2 separate regions of the Homo sapiens genome follow, and region 1 is linked to region 2. The links are contacts of gene promoters, found by promoter capture Hi-C in blood cells and fetal thymus (Javierre and others, 2016). All regions are on one chromosome and are shown on one strand. Each heading gives the region's core, a stretch centred on a gene start or on the middle of the fragment in contact. The rest is flanking DNA. Distances are from core to core; before and after follow the strand shown.

Region 1 (3,907 bases), core at 915-3,414, 500 kb after region 2:
AAGGTCCTCGAACCCTATAAACATCTCTACCACTGTGGGAGCCTATCGAAATTTTTGTATAATTTTTCTGATTGATGGTCAATTGTAAATACCAATTTAATGCTTGTCTCTGTACTGTGGTCCCCCCTTATACATGGGAGATACATTCCAAGATCCTCAGTGGATACATGAAACTGCAGATAGTACTGAAACCTAAATATACTACGTTTTTTCCTATACACACATACCTATGATAAATTATATGATATATGATAATTTATAAATTACACAGAGTGGGCAGAGTGTGGTGGCTTACGCCTGTAATCCCAGCACTTTGGGAAGCCAAGGTGGGCAGATCACAAGGTCAAGTGATTGATACCATCCTGACCAACACGGTGAAACCCCATCTCTACTAAAAATACAAAAATTAGCTGGGTGTGGTGGTGCATGCCTGTAGTTCTACTCAGGAGGCTGAGGCAGGAGAATCGCTTGAACCTGGGAGGTGGAGGTTTCAGTGAGCCGAGATCGCGCCACTGCACTCCAGCCTGGGTGACAGAGCAAGACTCCATCTCAAAAAATGAAACAAACAAACAAACAAACAAAACTTACACACAGTAAGAAATTAACAATAATAAAATAGAACAATGATTAGATATACTGTAATAAAAATTATGTAAATGTGGTCTCTCTTTCTCAAAATATCTTATTGCTCTGTGTTCACCTATTTTCAAACCATGGTTGACCATGAGTAACTGAAACCATGGATAGCAAAACCTTGGATAAGGGGGGAGCTCATGTACTAAGCACCCCAGAAGGATGTGCAGACCACCTCTGCCTTTGGTTTATGTGGAATGTCACCCCCAGCAAAACCCATCTTGTGCTAACAACACACAGTTATGGTGTTTCTGTAAGAAACCTTAACTTGTCCTGAGAATTTGAAGAGGAATCCTTCCGCTTCCAGAGATCTTTGTTATTCGCTCTCATGACCTATCTATCTTGGCATGATGTGATGGTTGTATGAATGCCAGCAAATCACTATAGACTCTAAGTTCACTGACAGCAGAGTCTGCCTTCTTTGTAAATAAATACTTTACTCTTACCACACATACTGAAATATAGTAGAGTTCAACAAATGTTTCTTAAATGATGAGGGGTCTTTTGGTCTTATATAGTTCAGGTGGTTGGGGTATGGAGTAAAGGATTTAAATATTTGGCCAATCAAATTAAAAAGGGAAGCTGTCCTGGATTTGTTTTAAGTGATGATCCAGGGCAGAGGATTTGCTCAGGACTTAGCAGTAGAATGATGCTCTACCTGAAAAGCTTGTTTGTTTTTGCTGAGTAGGTACTGAGCACTTTCTCACTATTTTTCTCTCCCTTCTCACATTGGTAGCTGCAAACATAGAGCTTGTTTTGTGGTACTCCTATAACACATGTATACATCTATGCCCCAAATCCAGTCCTGGATCCATCTTATTTACAGTTTTATTCCCTTTTACCTTCTGCTTTTGTTTTTACTATTAAAATTTTTTTTAAATTTCAAATTTCCAAATGCAACTCCTTGAAATTCTTCATAATCATTCTTCATAATTCCTCATAATTCTTCAAAAAGAATTCCTTAAAATCATCTAATTTAGTACATAATTAAGTTGTCTGTGTTATCTCAAACATGCCTTTTTATAGTTGATTTGATTCAGTCAGAAAGTTCACATATCACATCGGGTTGTGCGTCTCAATTCTTTTTAACTTTATAGCAGTCCTCCTTCCCCCTCTTCTTCTTTACCATTTATTTATTTGGAAAAAAAATCATGTATCTTGTAGAATTGCTCACATTTTGGACTTTGGTGATACATTCTTGTGGTTTTTGTCTGAGACGTTTCCTCATACTTCGTATTTCCTCTAGACTATCTACAGGCCTGATCAGGTATGTTTTTTTTTTTTTTTTTTTTGGAAGTCTCACTCTGTCACCCAGGCTGGAGTGCAGTGGCACGATCTAGGCTCACTGCAACCTCTGCCTCCCGGGTTCAAGCGATTCTCCTGCCTCAGGCTCCTGAGTAGCTGGGATTACAGGCACGCGCCACCATGCCCAGCTAAATTTTGTATTTTTAGTAGAGACAGGGTTTCATCATGTTGGTCAGGCTGTTCTCGAACTTCTGACCTCGTGATACACCCACTTTGGCTTCTCAAAGTGCTGGGATTATAGGCGTGAGCCACCGCACCCAGCCAGATTTGGATTTTTTAATGTGACTATTTCAGTGCTAGTGTTGGACTGTTCCTGCAGCGTTATATTAGGAGACACGTGATGTCTGATTGCCTTTCTTTTCTTAATTGATCAGTAAGATCAGATGGTGTCAGCCTGACCCATCCACTATAAAGTTCCCCACAACATCTTAATTAATGAGTTTAGCAGATTTAGATTTTTTTCTTTATCATTATTTCATTAGGACTGCAAAATAGTGATATTCTGATCCTATTGTTCCCTTTTATTTTTTATTTATTTACTTTTTGAGATAGAGTCTTGCTCTGTCACCCAGGCTGGAGTTCAGTGGCGCAATCTCAGCTCACTGCAACCCCCACCACCTGGGTTCAAGTAATTCTCATGCCTCAGCTTCGCGAGTAGCTGGGATTACCAGTGTGCTCCACCAGGCCCAGCTGATTTTTTTGTATTTTTAGTAGAGATGGGGTTTCACCACATTGGACAGGCTGGTCTCAAACTCCTGACCTCAAGTGATCTCCCTACTTGGCCTCCCAAAGTGCTGAGATTACAGGTGTGAACCACTGCGCCTCGGCCCCTTTTCTTTTATTAATTGTAATTCTTCTCTAAAGAATAGCTTCCCCTCAACTATTATTTGGTTATCACAAAATGCAGATTACATAAGGAAGCCAAGATAAATATGTAATATTTTTCCCTTGCCTATTTTTGAAATAAATAGTTGGTTTTTTTTATTTAAAATATCATTATTAATTTATGGATTTTTAGCATATTTGATGTACTTCAATGAATTGTGGCCATTATTCTTTTTGATGATCCAATTATTTTGTTTTTGGCCAGTGAAAGCTTCTTCAGGTTAGTTTCATTTGCCTTTTGTCTTTTGACATGACAATAGGAATTTTTGAAATCTGGTACAAGAAAATATTCCAGGCTCATTTTATACATTTATTGACTTATATCTGAAGGAATTATTTTTCCAGAAAGTTCTGATCACTTTTGGTGATCCAGGTGCTGAGAGGTACTTGTTGCTAATGGATTGATGATTTATTTCTTTCAGGTCTGTGTAATAGACAAAGTTAGGAAGTTCATAATTTTTATGGGCAATACAATTTCATTATGATATAATACTTATATTTCCAATTCAAATTCAGATAATAGGAATTTTTATTTACCATCTTAGATTTTATGTATTTCCAATCTCTTTTTGATTACCATAAAAATCTTGGTTCCCAGTAACATTAATAGAAGCACTAATACAATGTGTTACTTACCCTATTAAAATAAAAATAATAACACTGTAATTACTCCCCATCCCCACACTTCAGCCTCCATGAGATATATGGAAACAGTCAAATTATTATGTTTTAAAGTCATTTGAAATAATTCACCATTGAGTAAGCCACAGATTTCATAATGTTAGGTTAATTTTTTCCCCAAGTTTTCAGAATTTTTAAAAATTCAATTTTTTTGTTTTATAATTATGTAAAAAATAACATGGACCCAAAACAACACAACACAACAAAGCACATTTAGAAATATCTGTGTTCTACCTGTGTCTCCTCTACCCTGTTCCCTCCTCCCCAGTGAACAATAATATTCCTTAGTTTTTAACTTATCTTTCCATTTATTTTTAATATAGTCAAATATGTATCTTTCATCCTTCGAGGAAAGGTAGCAATCTTTATATACAGTTCTGCCCCTTGGTTTTTTCTTTTCCTT
Region 2 (4,106 bases), core at 62-2,561:
TAACTGGCTGTTTCTTGGCAGTGAGGACGGAACCTAGGCTGATTCCCTCTGGTCCCTTCTGATGCTGCTGGCTCTGCTGGTCTGAGGGTTGCATATAGGTATACGGGTTTCTTCTGAAGTGTGAAGGTAGGGGGTCAGCTGTATCATAGCCCAGTCCCCCCCTGCTGATCCCTTCTAACAGTGGGATGGGCATCCAACTATTTGACTCTTACTCTCACCACCATCCTCTTCCACGTGAATCAATTCTTTTTGCAGGGAATTGGGGTGGCATGAGGTGTCCCCAACTTCTTTGCAGGCACACTAATAATAAATAGCATCACTTATTCAGCATCTACTCTATGCCAAGAATTATACTGGTTGCTTTCTTTTTTTCTTTCTTTCTTTTTTAGATGGAATCTCACACTGTCGCCCGAGCTGGAGTGCAGTGGCGCGATCTCAGCTCACTGCAATCTCCGCCTCCCGGGTTCAAGTGATTCTCCTGCCTCAGCCTCCCAAGTAGCGGCGATTACAGGCATGTGCCACCATGCCCAGCTAATTTTTTGTATTTTTAGTAGAGACAGGGTTTCACCATGTTGGCCAGGCTGGTCTCAATCTCCTGACCTTGTGATCAGCCTGCCTTGGCCTCCCAAAGTGCTGGGATTACAGGCATGAGCCACCGCACCCAGCCTGATTTCTTATTTAATTATCACACAAGCCTGCCAAGAGGTATCAATCCATATTTCGTAAATGAGGGAACTATCAGAGAAGTTTTGTTGCTTACCCAGCATTACACAGTAAGAAAGTAATAGAGCCAGGTGAGAAATTCAGATTTGACTTCAAAACGACAGCCTCTTCATTGTTCTATTTTACCTGAAGTCATTCCTTTTATAATGGTACCTGTTTAACATGTTCCCCCGCTTAGATAATGCAGCTGCCTTCTACTGAGGAGTTTTAGTGCCATGATCCATCAGTCCACTGACTGATGATGGAGATTTCCAGCTGAGACAGGCAGGCAGATGGAGGAAAATTACCCCTAGCCCCACCCCCTACACCAACATAGGCACTGCTTATATTCAAAGACGTACTTTAGATCTGCTATCTACTAGAAAAATCCAGATTTGTGCAGATCACAGTTCCACCCACTCATCAGCATTTCTCAGCTTTCTGCCCCCAGGACCCACTAATCATTTACAGCTTGTTGATGGTTATTTGAACCCAGGGTCAAGGTGAACACCCTCAGTTACACAACAAAAATGTATCAAGGTTTTGTTTAATCAATTGCGTGTGTTTCAGAAAGTCTGTATAAAATTCTCTGCAGTGGCAGATCATAGCAAGGGATGGTTTAACAAAATGAAGGCACTCATTGCAGCACTGCTTTTGATCACATTGCAGTATTCGTGTGCCGTGAGTCCCACTGACTGCAGTGCTGTTGAGCCGGAGGCTGAGAAAGCTCTAGACCTGATCAATAAAAGGCGACGGGATGGCTACCTTTTCCAATTGCTGCGGATTGCTGATGCCCACTTGGACAGAGTGGTGAGGAATTGCCAATGGCAGAGCTGAGTTGGGAGATTACTCACGGGGGCAAATGTGACTCTACCCCCTAGGCTTACTGCTTTGCACAATGAATGGCTTTGGTCAGAGTTTTTTGTTTGGCTTCTGCGGCTGCTCTAAATTGTTCTTTTTTCCTTCAAACTAATATTTGTTATTAGTGTACCCGCAACTATGATTCGATTTGTGGGTACATATAAGCATTTATGCTGAGCCCAGTTACATGCTAAGGACTGCCAGAGAAACATTAGAATAAGCTATGGGCCTTGGCCTCCAGGAAATAATAATACACTGGCACATACAGGCAAACAGTGTAAGTTACTAGGATAAACTAGAGAGAAGGAAAAGTTTTCTCAACCCTCCTAAGGCTCCTAACTGAGCCTGAAATAAAACTGGTAGACAAGGCCAGGCGCGGTGGCTCACGCCTGTAATCCCAGCACTTTGGGAGGCCAAGGCGGACGGATCATGAGGTCAGGAGTTCAAGACCAGCCTGGCCAACATGGTGAAACCCTGTCTCTACTAAAAATACAAAAACTAGCTGGGCATGGTGGTGCACGCCTGTAATCCCAGCTACTCAGGGGGTTGAGGCAGAAGAATCGCTTGAACTCGGGAGGCAGAGGTTGCAGTGAGTCGAGATCATGCCACTGCACTCCAGCCTGGGCAACAAAGCTAGACTCCATCTCAAAAAAAAAAAAGAAGAAGAAGAAAACATACAAATTTATTTAATCCAAGGTTTACCTGACACTGGAGTCTTCATAAATGAAGACTCAGATATCCAAAGAAACTGGCCACTTGCATACTTAGAATTCACAAAGGCTGTGCAGAATGCAGAAGTGTGATGGGACAAAAGGCTGTAATCTAAGAGTCATAGACTGAAAGAAGGACCCAGCAAGGCCTCTCTGTTTGAGTTCTTCATGGCCTCTCTGTGTGGCATTTCTTGCTCCCAAGTATGGGACAGGATCCCTTTGGAATGCGGATCTGAGGACCTACTATCAAACAGAGTAGGTCAGAGAATGTCTTTATGGCCAGCTCCTACAAAGAAAGACACAGGGGGAAGGTTAGATTCATATTTTAGGATTTATGGATGCTTTCGGGGAGAGGGATTCTACCATCTGTGACTGTCCTGGAGAAGAGAAATTTTAGTTTCTATGGCTTGCCTTGGGGGAGAAAGCAGAGTAGGAGAACAAAGGGCAGAAGGTCAGACAGATCTGGCTTCTGAGGCCCTTCCCATTTTCTTCAGTTCAAAGGACTCAGCACGCCAAAAGTACCATACTTTGAGATACCATGTTCTGAGCCCCAACAATAGCCAAGTGACCAAAGGAGTGGTAAATGTACTGGAGCAATTTAATGAGGGGAGATCTAGTAAGACTGGATGGGAGGAGGCTTCTGCTGTGTAATGATGCATGGGTAGGATTTGAACAGGTCTGGGTAAATGTGTTCCTGGTGAATTCCTGGCACCACCACTTCTAGGTGGGTATGGAATCAGGAAGAAGGGTGTTAGGGAGCCATTGAATATAAGCAGGTGGGTTCCAGAAGTTCCATGTGGGCTCTGGAGCAGGCATCAGGTAGGAGCCAAGCCTGTGGGCTTGTCTTGAGGTGAAACAAGCTTACTGTCTTCGCTTAGATTACACGCCTACCTAAACTGGACTAGAGGAGCCGATAGACATTATAGAGAGACATGAAGCCTGCCTCTAAGCTCCCCAAATAACCTACTCTCCCTCTGATGGAAAAACTGAAATTAGGGAGGCCAGACAAGGAGTACTACAGAGGACAATTTACCCTTCTGAAAGTATCACAGAGGGAGGCACTGTGGGTTGCAGAGAACAGGTGTGCAGGAGTTTAGGATTCAACCAGTAATTCAGTGACCATTAGTCCCATGCCAGGCTCATCAACACATGTTAGGGCATAGGATGCATCAGCACAGAGCTGCCTCTGAGAGCTAGCATAGAGAGCGGGTGGATGGGGAGGGGTCCTGATGTGCCTGGGGAAACTGAGGCAAGAGACAGGGACATGAAGTAGAAAGCTATTTATGTATTCAGGAATGAAAGAACAAGGGTCAGACCTGGGTTAGTGGGAGTCAGGGCAATGAGACTGAGGAATAGACATGAGAGACGTTGCCAAGAAAGACCATTCAGGGCCTGGTACTGGATAGCAAAAGCAAGGACAAGGAAAACATCTCGTAGGTTTACATGTTTTACCCCAGAGTCTAAGGCAATATGTTGTTAGTGGTGCCACTGACAAAGACGAGGGAAGTGGAGAGGGCAGCTAGTTTGTAAGAGAAGAGAGAGGATTTAGCTTTGGGCAAAGCAACATCAAAGCAGAAAATCCCATGATCAGTAATAGAGCTGGGCAAGAGGACACAACTACAAGGACAGATTGGAGGCCCTGATGAGGTCGTCATGACTTATACTTCCAGGCATGCGTAGGTGATGATGCCTCCGCTAAACCACCACTGCCGTTTAGTGATAGCTTCTTCAAGTTTATGGGCAGAAGACAAATCAGGACCACTTAAAAAGATTTGGAAATAACTCATTGAAGCTATGTATTGGAATCAATAGATCAAATGACGCAAAGGTAGA

Evidence for each region. Contacts are between HindIII fragments. The CHiCAGO score rates a contact against its expected background, and 5 or more counts as called.
Region 1: a fragment that was not itself captured here is called in contact with the fragment with the promoter of HRG in region 2 in 1 of 17 cell types (naive B cells); the score reaches 5.0 in naive B cells.

What each region holds. Positions count from the first base shown.
Region 1 is chr3:187,168,459-187,172,365 of GRCh38, forward strand. No RefSeq gene overlaps it. Among named protein-coding and RNA genes, the nearest start is that of RTP1, 27 kb to the right of the region's middle. RefSeq lists an enhancer at 2,385-2,886. The HindIII fragment of the contact is 1,735 bases long and covers 1,298-3,032 here.
Region 2 is chr3:186,664,703-186,668,808 of GRCh38, forward strand. HRG (histidine rich glycoprotein) reads left to right here and starts at 1,312. Exons shown (of 7, transcript NM_000412.5): 1 at 1,312-1,512. The coding sequence starts at 1,330. HRG-AS1 (HRG and FETUB antisense RNA 1) reads right to left here and starts at 932. Exons shown (of 3, transcript NR_187317.1): 1 at 877-932. The HindIII fragment of the contact is 4,199 bases long and covers 1-3,131 here.